Regions from separate parts of the Homo sapiens genome. Here region 1 is linked to region 2. The links are contacts of gene promoters, found by promoter capture Hi-C in blood cells and fetal thymus (Javierre and others, 2016). All regions are on one chromosome and are shown on one strand. The core of a region is centred on a gene start or on the middle of the fragment in contact, and the rest is flanking DNA. Distances in the headings are between cores, read along the strand shown. Region 1 overlaps FGF8 (fibroblast growth factor 8). Region 2 holds the start of LBX1 (ladybird homeobox 1).

What was found. Contacts are between HindIII fragments. The CHiCAGO score rates a contact against its expected background, and 5 or more counts as called.
Region 1: a fragment that was not itself captured here is called in contact with the fragment with the promoter of LBX1 in region 2 in 2 of 17 cell types (endothelial precursors and erythroblasts); the score reaches 7.6 in endothelial precursors.

What each region holds. Positions count from the first base shown.
Region 1 is chr10:101,768,655-101,771,354 of GRCh38, forward strand. FGF8 (fibroblast growth factor 8) reads right to left here. Exons shown (of 6, transcript NM_033163.5): 6 at 1,455-1,965. The coding sequence ends at 1,675. It overlaps LOC105378457 (a long non-coding RNA gene), which reads left to right. Exons shown (of 3, transcript XR_946253.3): 2 at 1,903-1,971. Among named protein-coding and RNA genes, the nearest start is that of FGF8, 6.1 kb to the right of the region's middle. RefSeq lists an enhancer at 1,479-2,256. The HindIII fragment of the contact is 7,236 bases long and covers 1-2,700 here.
Region 2 is chr10:101,228,184-101,230,883 of GRCh38, forward strand. LBX1 (ladybird homeobox 1) reads right to left here and starts at 1,280. Exons shown (of 2, transcript NM_006562.5): 1 at 308-1,280. The coding sequence starts at 632. LBX1-AS1 (LBX1 antisense RNA 1) reads left to right here and starts at 1,411. Exons shown (of 3, transcript NR_029380.1): 1 at 1,411-1,631. The HindIII fragment of the contact is 27,362 bases long and covers 1-2,700 here.

The DNA of each region.
Region 1 (2,700 bases), core at 36-2,535, 540 kb after region 2:
GGCTTCCCACTAAGCCTCGAAATTCCTGATCTGCCGGGGTGGGCTAAACCTGGGACTTGGGCCTGAAACTGTGGGAGGAAGCCTTGGGTTGCTCCCTACCCCAGGAGATGCCAATGGACAGAGTCCTAGAGGAGCGAGGTTTCTAGACTGGCTCAGTAGCTGGGCTGTGGGACCAGCCCAGGGCATCCACAAGGAAGGAAGCAGGAGCAGCCCTAATGGGAGGCCTCAGCGATGAAGCCTGGGCCAGCTCTGCACTCAGGAAACTGCCGTGGGGCCTGGGCTCTCCCTCGGTGTGGCAGGACACCAGTCTCACCAGTCCACACGCAAACACACACCTGCACCCTTGCCCATTCCCTTCTCTGCCCACACCATGACCTGCTCCACCACTCCCACAGCAGCCCTCCCTCCCTCCACATACGGCCTCCTGCTTCTCCCCAAGGCTATGACTGCCTTTAGTTCTGCGCTAGGCCTATGAGCTTCCCTTCTGGTGCCATCCGGTGCCCAGCTCCTCTCCCGCCAGGCCCATCCTCCGAGGTGGGCAGCCTCTTCCTGGAAGACAGTTCCCCAGGCTCCTCACCGCACCTCAGCTCAGTGCTTTCTGCCCACAGCTATCTCACCATATCACCCAAGGTTAACACTTGTCCCACATCACCATTGTCAACACCAGTCTTGGTGGTCCCCCTCCAATATGCCCCCACCTTGGACCCTGGCAGCTGCTCTTTTCTTTCATTTTCTGGAGCCTGAGTCTCAGAAAGAGCAAGTTCTGGAATCTCCAACCTGTCTCCCACATGGACCTAGGCACTCAGAGAAGCACTTTTTAAGAGGATTAAATCCATGATTACAGCTCTAGCCCTAGCACATCCATTATTTCTGGCCCTGAGGTGGCCTGGGGAAGTGTTAGCAATGACCTCTGTAAAGTGCTAGGAGGTACACATCTGAGAGCTCCAAGGACTAGCTAAGAGCCTCTTCTTGCCCCTTTCCCTGCTTCTGTCCTTGCAGGAAAACCCCTCAAGTGACAGTGATGGGGATGGTTGACAGGCAGGTGTCTTTAGGCTGGAGGGAGGCTGTGGTCAGAGCTGGCACCTGGTCATCTGCGTCTCCCAGCCGCCCACCAGCTGGGGCAAGGTTGGAGGGAGGGGCTGACCCCGGCAGGACTCACTCTCCAGCACACATTTTTAATATGCAAGTTAAATAAATATTTCAATCATTTAATAGCCACCAGTCTGATACCCACTTCTAAGAGGACTGCCCTATGTCACAGTCCTTTCCTCCCTGCCCCACCTGGGGGTGCAGTGGAGTCCCTGGCTGCCCAGCCAACTGGCCCTGGAGGTACTGGGGCCTCAGCAGCACAGGCTAGAGAAAGCCCCCCACCCCCGCAAACCCCCAGCCGGAATCCCAGTCTAGGCCACTAATGGAGCTTTCTGAGAGTTAAGAAGACAGACACCACAGCCAAGTGGAATACAAAAATAGAGCCTCTCTTTTGTTTTAAAAAAAAAAAAAAAAAAAAAAACAGCAAAAACCCAACAGCAAACAATATCAACAACCGGAACCCAGGGCTCCCCCAGCACCTCCCCAGCCTGCAGAGCAGCGCACAGCTCATCTTGCTTGAGTTTTGGGTGCCCTACAGGATGAGCCTCTCTGCGGTCTGGCATTGTGGGGAGGGCCAGGCAGCACCTATCGGGGCTCGGGGGCCCAAGTCCTCTGGCTGCCGCGCAGGCTGCGCGTGAAGGGCGGGTAGTTGAGGAACTCGAAGCGCAGGCTCTGCTCGGTGGTGTGGTGGCCCCGGGGCAGCCGCTTCATGAAGTGGACCTCACGCTGGTGCTGCCGCGTCTTGGAGCCCTTGCGGGGCCGGCCCTTGCGGGTGAAGGCCATGTACCAGCCCTCGTACTTGGCATTCTGCAGCGCTGTGTAGTTGTTCTCCAGCACAATCTCCGTGAAGACGCAGTCCTTGCCTTTGCCGTTGCTCTGCAGGTAGGGGAGCCAGACACCACGTTACAGAGCCCCCCCAGCAGAGGCAGAGGGCGAGCGGCCCCAGACAGCAGGTGGGCACCCCAGCAGATGGCGAGGTGGGCAGGAGCCGCAGCCCCACCCCCTGCCTGGGCACCCGCTCTCTAATCCCTCACAACTCGCAGCCCACCCGGCAACTTCCTGTCCTCCCAGGCAGCAGTGACACATGGTTGTCTACGGAGGGGCTGGGCCCCAACGCAGAAAGACAGAGAGAGGGGCCCAGAGCCTGGCCTGCTCTGGCCTCCTGCCCACCAGTCTGGCCACCCGTCTCCCCACCTGCCCCTCTCACCCCCCCAGGACTTCGGTTCCCTGGCCCCAGGGCAGCCACCCTATGGGGGAGGGGAGGCCTGGGAGAAGATGCTAAGACCCCAGCCCCAGAAGCCCAGGAAGTGGGGAGCTCGAGGCTGGAGAGGAGCCGTGACTAATGGAGCCATTTCAGAGCTCGGCCGAGGGGCTGGGCCTGCGGCTTACTGAACATTCCAAATGCTGGTACCATGTAATTGGACATAATAGCAAAGCAATTTGGCGATTTGTTAAAAAGATATATGGAATTTACCAACCACCACCCCCCAGCCCCTTCCCTAGCCTTCATTCTTCCTCCTTCGCCTTTTATAGTTTTCATCTCTCAAACAGCTTCCTTCTCCCTCACTCCTGCACCCAATCGTGAGGTAACCCCAAGATGGCCCTGTGGCC
Region 2 (2,700 bases), core at 30-2,529:
CGCCGAGTAGCCGGGCTAAGAGCGCCCAGGACACTGGGAACGCAAGGGAGCCCGGCAAAGCAAGCAGACTGCGGAAAGAGCTTGGCCACCCTTCTCCTGCCACCCCCCAGCTCTGGCCTACCCAGAGGTCCCTGGGAAATAAGGATTGGGTCCCGTCCCACATATCTTCACTCCCATAAGCAGCTGCTCAGGCTGGAAGGCCCTGGCGGCCGGAGAGGGCAGAGGCGAGCAGAGGCATAGGGGACGAAGCGCGCAGGGCACAGGGCGCGAGGCGCTGGGTGCAGGGGAACCCAGCAGCTGCGCCTACCTTCGGCTGCCTGCAGAACGCTGACCTCCAGCCCCTTAAACGTCTTGCTGGCGAGCTCCTCCAGCGCGCACAGCGGCGAGGTCTGCGAGAGCAGCGCGCGGCCCGCCAGGGGCAAGCCGCCCTGCGCGTGCTTGTCCGCGGCGGCCAGCAGGTGCGCCGCCCCGCACAGCGAGTAACTTCTCCGCACAGACGGCTTGTTGAGGATGTCCTCGATGCTGAACGGCGTCAGTGGCTTGTTGGAGTTGGCAGGCGGAGGCAGGTGGTCCAGCGGGCTGCGCCGCCGCTCCTCCCCCGGCGCCGCCTTGCCGTCCTCCTTGGAAGTCATCTCGGCCTTGTTCGGGGTCCCGGCCGGGGCGGCTCGGGCCGCGGGGACCCAGCCCGCGGGCAGCTCGGGCGCCGGACGGCGCGGGCAGGCAGCGGCGGGTGGAAAGGAGGCCGCACTGGGCAGGGCGCGGGCCGGGCGCGGGGCCGATTAGCGCGGCGGCTGAGGAGGGGAGAACAGCGCGGGGCCCCGGGAAGAGGGCGCTGACGCGGGCGCCGCTGCTGCTGGGGCTTCCAGCAATCCGGGGCCGGAGCCGGGGCGCGCTGCGCGGGGCTCCAGTTTCGCCAACCCCGGTGCTATTTAAAGGTGTCAGGTGGCTCGGCAGTGGCTCCTGGCCCCGGGTCCTGGCGGCCGCAGTTGGAAGAGCCGAGGCGAGGGCGCCGATCCCGGACTGCGAGGGAGGCGGAGAGACGGGGCAATTGACTATTGCTAACAAGTTAGCCTTGATCGCGGTGTAATCAATTATCTGCAGCGGCACTTCTTTCTCTTTCTCTCTCCTTTCTCCCTTTTTCCTCTCTTCTTTGCCTCTGTTCTCTCCTCCTGTTCTCGCTCTCCCTCCCTCCCTCTCTCTTCTCTCTTCTCTGCTCCCCCCTTCTCTCTCCTTCTCTCCCTCTCCCTCGCCCTCTCTTTCACTCTCTGTCTGTCCAATGCAGGCGGCTGTAAGTTGGGAAGCTCATTAATTAGCGGGCCGGGGGTAGGAGGAGCCGGCTGGAATTAGCCTGCCTAATGCGCCTGTCAGTCCGGGCGCTGCGCTGCGTTCGGCCCGAGCTGTTTGTAAATTACATTAGCTGCTCCTTTATTGCACCCGAACCTCGGGCGACTGAAAAGCCACCGCCCCCACCCCAAACTGCGAGCCGCGCTCCTGGCGCACCCGCCTCCCGCCGGCCTAGCTGCAATGACCGCACCGGCCCGAAGGTCTCGGTCTCTCCGACCCGGGATGTGGAGCCCGAAAGAGTGGTGGGAACCCCAGCCCGGGAGGGACGCGGCCGCCGCTCGGGCCAGGTAGGACCAGGAGCCCGGGTGGGCCCCGCTGCCACCCAGAGTGGACTTTGCGGAGCTGAGATCAAGAGCCCAGCGCCTCTACCTCTGACCCTCTTGCCCCTCACCCCACTGCCTGGGCGACGCGCCTGGGGAGAGGGAATCTGAAGCCCTCCTGCGCTGGCCCGCAGGAGGTCAGAGCCGGCTGCGCAGCCTTGGGTGGGCGACGCGGGAAGGGGGTGGAGGACCCCAGGGGTTGGGGGAGGGGGCTAGTCGGAGAGCTCAGCCTTCTCCACGCGGAGAGGCGGAGGAGGGAATTGTTGGCGGCTCTGGACGCCTCTCCCCGGCCTGATTCCGAAGCGGCCGCCCTACCTCCTCCGGCAATCTTGCTCACTTTCCTCCGGCAGCCGCTCCCCAGGCTGGCTGGGGCCACCAACGGCCTGATGATGGGCGTCTGAAGAGTAGCCAGGCCAGGTGCCGGGGCTAACGGGGCCGGCTCCGTGCCTCCCTGCTGCGCTCCGCCCGGGCCCCGGCCGGGGCCCCGCTGCCGGCCCCGCCTAGCCCAGCGCCCGGCTTGAGTGCATGGCCAGGCCGACTCCAGCTGTTCCGGATGCGGGGCGGGGGCCCGGCGGGAGCCAGGCCGCGGCTGGGGCTTTGCTCTCAGGAACTCGCAGGGAGGCCAGGCTTCCAGTTAGGCTGGGGCTAAAGACCTTAGGGCCCGGGATCTGTGAATATCGGGAGAACATGTTGTGTGCATTGTTACTTGAAGGTGTTTGTGTTTTTGAATGTGTGTTTGTGTGTGTTTCTCCATGCGTATATTTGTGTAAATGTGTGTGAACCTGTGGGTATATAGGTGTGTTTGAACTCAGCTATTTCTTTCATTTCCCTGAGGCATTCCAGCAGGGCTGTGCCCTCAGGCCTTCCTGTCTTGCTACCCCATTCTGTTTATGTGGGGCCACTGGCCTCCTTACTAATTTTCCATTTCTGCCCTTGGAGAAAGGAGGGGAGGACCTAGAGGGGGTTGGAGTCCAGGGAGAAGGGCTGTTCCCCTCCCACACACACACAGCCCTGGCCCTGGCTTTGTTTGTAAACT